Linked DNA regions of Homo sapiens: all the other regions are linked to region 1. The links are contacts of gene promoters, found by promoter capture Hi-C in human tissues and cell types (Jung and others, 2019). All regions are on one chromosome and are shown on one strand. The core of a region is centred on a gene start or on the middle of the fragment in contact, and the rest is flanking DNA. Distances in the headings are between cores, read along the strand shown. Region 1 holds the start of GJB5 (gap junction protein beta 5). Region 2 has its middle 230 kb from the start of MIR552. Region 3 overlaps LOC105378641 (a long non-coding RNA gene).

Region 1 (2,797 bases), core at 119-2,618:
CCTTTTCCTCCTGACATAACATTTATCATCTTGTGGAACAGCCTTGTCAAGACATCAAGTGGGAAATGCTGCTCCTGTCAGTTCTGCTGGTGAATTTGGCCTGATGAACTCACAGAATCAGATTCACCTCCGCGTAAGGACTGTGACTGCTAGGCAGAGTAAGGGGTCCCCACTTCCTCACCCGCGAGTCCTCTGCCTGATTCCTGGAGATGGGGGTGTGTCCATTAAGACCCATGCACTGTGGTTTCAACCAACTGTGCACCCTGGGACCCCAAGGAACCTGTCTGCCTAGCCACTAAAGGGCTCATGATGGCCTTCCCATGCTGGTCCAGGCTGAAGCTCACCAGGCTCTCTGGAGCCTCTGCATGATCAACTGCAAAGCAGAGTAGTGATAACAGCCAATATCCATGAAGCATTCATGCCGTGCCAGGCACCGCTCTAAGTTCTTTGTATGAATCAGTACATTATTCCTTCACAGCAACCTTAGGAAAGGGCATATTTTTTATTCCCAATTTACAGATGAGGAAAGAGGAACACAGAGGGATTAATTAACTTGCTCAACGTCACACAGCTAATAAGTGGCAGAGCTAGGATTTGAACCCAGGCAGGCTGGCTCTAGAGCCCACCCTCCGGGAACTGCCCAGCCTTAGGCCTCAGACCCTTTCCTCAAGTTTCAATGAGCTGCCTGCCTGTTTGTGTGCAGACGGATTCTGTCCTTCCCCTTGTGTGTGGATCCTGGATGAGGGTGGCTGGGGGAACCTTTGCCCACCACCCTGTCTCCACACCACCTGCGCCACTTGGACGGGGGATGGGTGGAGGTGGGGGCCGGGGTTGGGGGGAGCTCTGTTTTGAATCACCATCTTGCATGCTCAGTCCTGTCTAAGGTAGGACTCCTGCAGCTTCTCAGGGAACACCCAGGAAGGCCCCGCCCTTAGCCCCAGGGGCTCTCACCCAGCCCATCCCTACTTGGGGAGGAGTGGGGCAGGGCTTTGCAGGCCCAGGCAGAGCTACCCTGCCTGCTGAGCTTCCGGCCTGGCCCCTGCTCCTACCTTTGCCCGGCTGGGGAGACCTGAAAGAACCCAGAGCCCCTTATTCCTCCACCATCAGGACCCAGGGTGGCAGATGTGTCCAGGCCACATCCCACCACTCCCCAGCAGAGAAGTGTCCTCCTGCCACGTATGCCAAGGGGCAGGGCACATGCGGACACAGATGCCCTTACCTGAGTGACTACTCCTCAGGGCTCTCCTGGCTCCCAGCAGCCGGCAATAGGACTCAGCAAGCAGCTTGAATTTCATATCCAGAAGCGGGGAAGGTTTTCGGGGAAGCCCGTTGAAGCCTGTTTCCAGGACAGAGCCTGCCGGGTGTGCTGGCCCAGCCTGGGAGGAGGAGGAGCTGGGACCTGCACTGCCATTGGCTGGGCCCCAGCCTCCCCAGACTGCTTCTGATGAGGCTCAGGAAACTGAGGGGTTCACTCCTCCCAGGGCGCTGAGCCTCGAATCCTGGTATCCTCTCAGGGGAGAGCCACAGGTCCACTCTGACTCCTTGTTCATCCTCCCATCTGTGGGCTTGTGTGGGAGAAGCTGAGGCCTGAATCCCAGCTCTGCCACTTTCTCACTGTGTGATTTCTTGCCTTCTCTGTGAAAGTGGGAAAAGAACAACACCTACCTCATAGGGTGGATACGTGGATTAACCCAGCCTTAGGGGTGAAGTGCTTAGAACAGTGCCTGACACAAGGGAAGCCCTGTCTACAATTGCCTATAATGCGTGTATACTGCCCAGCACAGGCCTGCCGCATGGTATGTCCTCAAAAAAATGTTTCTTCCTCCTCCTTTTCCTTATTCCTAGGCCTTTTCTTTCTGAGATACAGGGAAGGCAGAGGAGAAGGGAGGGAGAGAGAGACGTATGCACTAGAGAAAATCTCATTTGGATGCATGTTGTCTTTGGGTTAAAAAGGCCAAACCCAAGCCAGGCAGGAACCACAGGAGAGGTGGAGAAGGTGGGCAGGGGCACCTGGGGAAAGCTTCTCATTAGTGCACAGACACGGTCTTTTGGCCTAATTGACTTCCAAGGTGCCCTGTATCAGCAGGTCACTTGGGGTCAGGATTCAACAGACAAAGCATCCAGGAGCCACAAACACCTCATGTCCACAAGCAAACACAATGTAGCTTCACATGAGCATACTCTTACACACAGGCCACAATTATGGGCACAGTGTTGCACACACATGCAGCAGTGGCTTTATTTTATTCACTGCTCTATCCCTTGTGCCTAGTATGGTGCCTGGTGTCTTGTCCAGTTAGGCTTCAATTTATATTTATTGAATGAATGATGTGTGAAATGCACACACCCTGCAGAGAGTCACACATTTCTATACTCCATGCTCTTTCCAAAAAGCTGTTGCCAAGTACAGGAGAGAGGAGGCATATAAAGAGATCAGTTACAACATTGTGAGAAGTCCTAGAAAAGACACAGAGAGAGAAGGGAGTTTTAAGTTCTGCCAGAGGGAGAGCCGGAGAAGGTAACATTTAAGCTGGGTCTTGAAGGATGTATAGGAGTTTACCAAGAAGAGATGCTGAGGAGGGGCCTTTGAGGCAGTGGGCACATAGCGTGCAGAGGACCTTTGTGAAAAATAATGGAAGAGCATTGGAGAGTGGGCTGGGTAGTGGTGGGGACACCACATGGCAAGGAGCCTGGAAGGTCAGCAAAGACCTTCCAGACCATGAAGGACCTGGAATGTCATGCTAAGGAGTTTGAATTTATCTTGGGTGCAGAGGGAGGCATGAGGGAATTCTTTTCT
Region 2 (2,797 bases), core at 174-2,673, 310 kb after region 1:
GTAGCAGACTTCCGGAGAGTAGAGGGGATAGGGAGAACCCTCCCTACGCAGTGTGAGCAGGGGCAAGGGACAAAACAAAAGGTGGACTGTGAGGCAGACCCAGTTGAAGCTGCCATGATTGTTTCAGCTTGAAGTTTCCTTCAAAGTCCTCAGCAGAGAGCTCAGCAGAGTTGATGCCCCTGGGCCTGAGCTAGGTGATTGGGAATGCAGCCCAGGCAGTCCTAGATCTCAGACTCTAGGAGCTGATTGGTGTCATGGGGACCCCATGTTAGCTTTGAGAGCATCCGATGGACAAAAGGGGCTTTGCACAGAGAAGAGACCCTGTGAGGTTTAAGAGGGTATTAACTCAGGAGAGAGACCGCCAAGAATGTGTCCCTGAGGGCAACATGGGTGGTGGCAGAGAGAGGGTATTTGCCTTGGCACATTTAACCACTGGTCTCCTCCAGCCTCAGGGAGCCACCCGGACATAGGCTTCCTAATGAGAAGAGTCCTGGGCATTTAGAGACTCCGCATGCTTGTGCAAGCCGAGTCTAAAGTATTCATGGTCTTTAAACTCTTCTGGGTAGGAGCTGACTCTTCAGAAGAGGGTGCAGTAAGAAAGATTCAGAATTAGTCAGATGTTCACAGACTCCCTCGCCCAGGTCTCACCCCAGTCTCTTTCTGTCTTGGCTCTTTCTTCAGGGGCAGATTCCTGGCTCTTGGACTTGACTGGTGCACCCTTTGGTCTCTATCTCTGGTGGCTCATCTCCTTGGCCTTGGTAGCTCCATGACTTTCTGGAATCATAAACTCAACCTGGTTCAGAATTGGCCACTTCTGGGCCAGTGCCTGACCCACCTATGCTGCGACTTAGCACAGTCATTGCCACTGGAACTTCCTCCCATCAGTGTTCAGTGCTCAGAGGAGACAACCAGCTGTGGGAGCTCTAAGAGGGGCTGGGGCAAAGTTCCATCCAATAATCCTGTGGAATTTCTCTCTGGACAGCTGTGGACAGATGTGAGGGTAGTGACTGTTGATGCATATCTGTCCCCTGGAGTAAGAGCCTCAGGGGCTTTGCTCAGCTCTTGCCAGCTGGGAAGAGAGCAGAGCCCAGCCACATCCTTGAAAGGAATAGCAGATGTAATGGCCAGAGGAAGCCGTGTGCAGGGACGCATCTGGAGAGTTCAGAGGACTCATTAGAGCATCATCTTGCTCTGATAAGCTGTTAGTTAAAAGTTCACCTGGAGGGGCTTTTATTGCACCCCACTGAGAATTCCTACCTCCTGCTAGGAGTGCATATTGGGAAGGAAGAATTTTATAGATGGTATAAATGGCTAAATGTCTGAGTGTTAGTTATTCGAGCCTCACGTAATTGTGCTCTTTGGACCTATAGAAACCCAACCCTTTGTTGACTGTGTGGCAATCAAAGGAATAATGTTAGTGCAGAATTAGGGGCTAACCATTGTAATCATAATAACTGTAATAAGAATAGTAGCAGTAATTTATGGAGCTTCTATATGGTAGGCACTCTGCTTAGCACCTGCAGTGGGCTGAATAATACTCCCCCTAAAATATGAACCTGTGAATGTTACCCTATGTGGCAAAAGGGACTTTGCAGATGCAATTAGGTTAAGGATTTTGAAATGAGGAGATTATCCTAGATTATCTGGGTGGGCCCTAAAAGAAATCACAAGTGTCCATATTAGAGGAAGGCAGAGGGAGATTTAGCATAGAGGGGAAAAGGAAATATGACAATGGAAGCAGAGAGTGGAGGGATGTAGCTAACTGCCAAGGAATGCCACAGCCACCAGTAACTGGAAGAGGAAAGGAGTGGATTCTTCCCTGAAGCTTCCAGAAGGAACCAGCCTGCTGACACCTTGATCTTAGCCCTGCAAGACTCATTTCAGACTTCTGGCCTCCAAGACTGCAAGGGAATAAATTTCTGTTGCTTTAAGCTACTAAGTTTGGGGCAATTAGCAACAGCAGCAATAGGAAACCAAACACATACATACCTTGGCTCATTGACTCCTCATCCATCCTGTGAATTAGGCACTATTATGATTTCCATGTACACATGAAGAAACTGTGGTTCAGAGGGGCCAAGTGGCTGCTTCAGGTCAACAGTGCTAGCTAGTGGAAGAGCAGAAAATCAAACTCGGGTCTGTCTGTCTCTGGATCTCATGTCCTTCACCATAAGGCTATACGCCTTGCAACCACAACTCAGTATTGGCCATGATGAAGATGGCAAAGAAATTGGGCAGCCTCTGCAAGATTGGGCTAAGAAATCATGGAGTCAAAATTGAGACTACTTCATGGAGTGTCCTTGGGTACAGACACTGTCATGAGAAAAGCCCCCTGAAGAGAAGGAGGAGACACAGCTACAGGTGTCACAATCAAGATGTTGCAGGGAGGGGAAGTGCATGGAAGTTAGGTTCTGGGATAGACATGGTGGGAGCTCAACCATGGGGAAATAGAAGTAATTGAGGTACCAAGAAGGATGAGAACAAGGGTGGAGGTGCCGATCCAGAAATTGGTGGTGAACATCAGAATCTCTGTGGGCACCTCTGTATGACTGAGCCAGTGTTAAAGGTGTTATTTCCCAGAGAACCCATGCTAGGAGGGGCTGGGGGTTGTGTGTGACTGCAGCCCCTCAAGTCAGATGGGCACAGTGCTTCCCATCCAGAGAGGGTATTGCCCAGGTGCTGCCTGAGGGGTGAATGAGGCAGAACACCAGGTCTAAGACCTTGGTATGGGGTAGAGCTGACAAGGGCCAGTGGGGTGTTAGGGCCTCCTTTAAGTGTCATGGGTTTGGGGACAGGG
Region 3 (2,797 bases), core at 99-2,598, 290 kb after region 1:
TGTGTCTGGGGCTGGTGTATCGGCTATGTTCTGCAGAGGCACAACCCCAAATTCTAGAGCCAGCTCCTTCCCCACCCCCACCCCCACAACCCCTGCTTTTACCAATAAAGGTATCACTGTCCATGGCCAGAGACTGGAAAATTCCTGGTTGCTGGTCAGAGCAAAGGGAGACCAGCTGGAGTGTCCTGCGGGGCCATCATAAAGAAGATGGTTAGTGGACTTTCCTGGATGTTACCTCTTCTCTGGCTTAAGTCCTCCCCTCTGTCTGGTGCTCCTCCTGACAGCCCGGGGAGGGCTGGTGTGTTTCCTGCTGTTTGCATCTCAGAGGGATGAAGCAATTTTGGAGGAGTATTGACCCTAAATTCTAGTCATGCTTTAATCCCCCTGTGGGAGGTTCCCATTATCTCTTTAGTGTAAAACACATTATTAATGGATTATGCTTTCACCAAGTAAAGGTCTTTTTAGAAATGATTTTAAGAATCCCAACCTGGATTTTCTTTTCAGAAATACTACTTTCATGGCTCTGGCTATGAACATCAGCATATAGAGAATGGATCACTACCAAAGAAGGCACCCGAATGTGTCTGTCTCATCCTGGGGAAACTCATTCATCTGTATATGTACTCAGCAAGTGTTTCCTGGCACCTGCTCTGGGTCACAGTGCTGGGCACTGGAAGCTGAGAGATGTGGAAGAAGGCTGGACATTCAAGGTATGCACCCACACCTGCCTAGGGGACTCGTACCTGCAAACAAACAAAAGATCACAGTGCAAGCTGACAAATACTCTGATAGAGGTGTGGGAAGAAATGCTCCAGGAGCTCAGTGGATTGGTGAAGTTTGCTTCATTCATTTAAGCAAATAAAAATGGGTTCTGGATACATTCAGCAAAAGATGATTTGGAAGGCAAGAAAGATCTTGATCACCAAGCTTATGTGCTTGATCTTGTGCTATCCAGAGGGCTTCTGGCTAATTCATTGAACTTAAAGATGAGAGATATAATTTTCTTTTACAAAAAGACAAGTTTTCCAAATTTGCTGACCTTTCCAATGATGACAGGTAGCTGTTGCTATTAGATATTTTTGAAAAAGTAAACATCTGTAATCTGCCCTTTCAAGGTAAAGGCGATATTTTTTTAACAATGAGTGAGAAAGGAACTGTTTTTTGAAACAGGTTTGTGTGCACAAAAGGAAGAACATTTTAAAATGGATGTTTGAAGTGTTTCCACCATTACATGATCCTATTGCCTAAAATTTTGTCAGGGTGTCACTTATAAAAATTGTTATATCTGTGTTCTATAAAAACTTGGAAACAAAATTTCCTAAAGTGTTAAAAAATCTCCTACATAAAAAAACCTGGAGGACTTTGTACACATTTGTTCAAAATGTAGAAATGCTGCATCTTCCAATTCATTTGCAGAAATGAACAATTGATACGTGGAATACAGAGATCTAGTAAGCAAATGTTCACATTGTCTGTATAATTGGTAGGTGGGATTGAAAATGGGTCTAACATGTACAAAGTGCAGCCAGTAAGTATGTCTCCCACTGTGATCTCCATGTCTTTTGCATGCCTTTCAGCCTAAGTCATGAAAACCATGTACTAAATAAACATACTTTCAACTTGACCTTCAAATGATTATATCAAAAAGTGTTAAGCTAAGATTTTTAAAAGTATCAAAGCATTTATGATGAGCAAGTACATAGCTCTCATTATTTTATTTAATGGTTGAAAATTATATATATATATATAAATATAAATGTTTTATAATTTTCAACCGTATGTATCTTCAACCTTAAAATTTTCTATTTTTTGTGCAAAATTTCCATGACACTTAGCACATTACAGATATCTAATTTATAAATAAACAAATAAGCAGACATGTTTATGTTGAAGTTGCATTATCAAAAAGTTTTGATGGATGAGATGTTGATCATGAAACTGGGAAACTTCTCCTGTCCTCAATGGGGTCACCCTAAAGGAAATTAACATATGGGAGTGAGAGGACATACTTTTGTCTTAGAGAGGTGAGTTTTGCAACAGTGTGGAGAATGATTGGAATCAAGGAAACCAATGAAAAGGGTGTTTTGATAACTGGTGCCATGTGATGAGGGTCTGAATTAAGGTTGAGAAAGTGGGAAGGAAGAAGAAGCCAATTAGGAACAACTCCTCTCCATCTGCTGCACCTGCCTAAGTCACATTCTATTCATCTGTTACATCTCGTGTCTTGTCATCTACACCAGGAAGCCTTCCCTGATTTCCTAGGCTGGCGTGGGTTCCTCTCCTTTGGGCTCCAACAGCACCTGTGTTTTTTATAGTGTCGCTTTCATCACACTGTTTTGTAACTGTTTCTTTACTTGTCTGCCTGCTACTCTGTGCACCAGAAGCAGAGAGCTAGTTAGTGCCTGATTTTTGTTTCTGATTCATGGTAGGTACTTTGTCAATGCCTCTGAATGAACAATGCAGAATTTGACAAGACTGACTGGACGTTGAGGAAGTAAAGAGAGGTTGGGAATTTCCGAGATCAAATTTTCAAAATACAGAGTTGTTCTATCAGGCCCGTGGACACTTTTTCTTTGCCTTCATGTTGCTCTCAAAACTTTTTAATTAGCTGCCAACCCTAAAAATTTAGAAGGTTTCATATTAATATCTGAATTTCCAGCTTCTTTAAAAAAATCAGAGGAGCAGGAAACGCTGGGTTCATATTTCTATATGGCAGCATCAGCTGCAGTTGGTGATCTGCTGTCCCTTTTAGCTGGACATGCATGCCTCCCTGCAACCCAGTACTCTTCATTTGAGT

What was found. Contacts are between HindIII fragments. The study calls those that stand out against the background at their distance.
Region 2: a fragment that was not itself captured here is called in contact with the fragment with the promoter of GJB5 in region 1 in 2 of the 25 tissues and cell types used here (IMR-90 fibroblasts and lymphoblastoid cells).
Region 3: a contact is called between a fragment that was not itself captured here and the fragment with the promoter of GJB5 in region 1, in 2 of the 25 tissues and cell types used here (mesendoderm cells and thymus).

Annotation. Positions count from the first base shown.
Region 1 is chr1:34,753,618-34,756,414 of GRCh38, reverse strand. It overlaps GJB5 (gap junction protein beta 5), which reads right to left and starts at 1,368. Exons shown (of 2, transcript NM_005268.4): 1 at 1,220-1,368. The HindIII fragment of the contact is 2,696 bases long and covers 1-2,499 here.
Region 2 is chr1:34,442,981-34,445,777 of GRCh38, reverse strand. No RefSeq gene overlaps it. Among named protein-coding and RNA genes, the nearest start is that of MIR552, 230 kb to the left of the region's middle. The HindIII fragment of the contact is 4,526 bases long and covers 1-2,797 here.
Region 3 is chr1:34,467,694-34,470,490 of GRCh38, reverse strand. It overlaps LOC105378641 (a long non-coding RNA gene), which reads left to right. Exons shown (of 9, transcript XR_001737964.2): 6 at 505-710. Among named protein-coding and RNA genes, the nearest start is that of MIR552, 200 kb to the left of the region's middle. The HindIII fragment of the contact is 3,632 bases long and covers 1-2,797 here.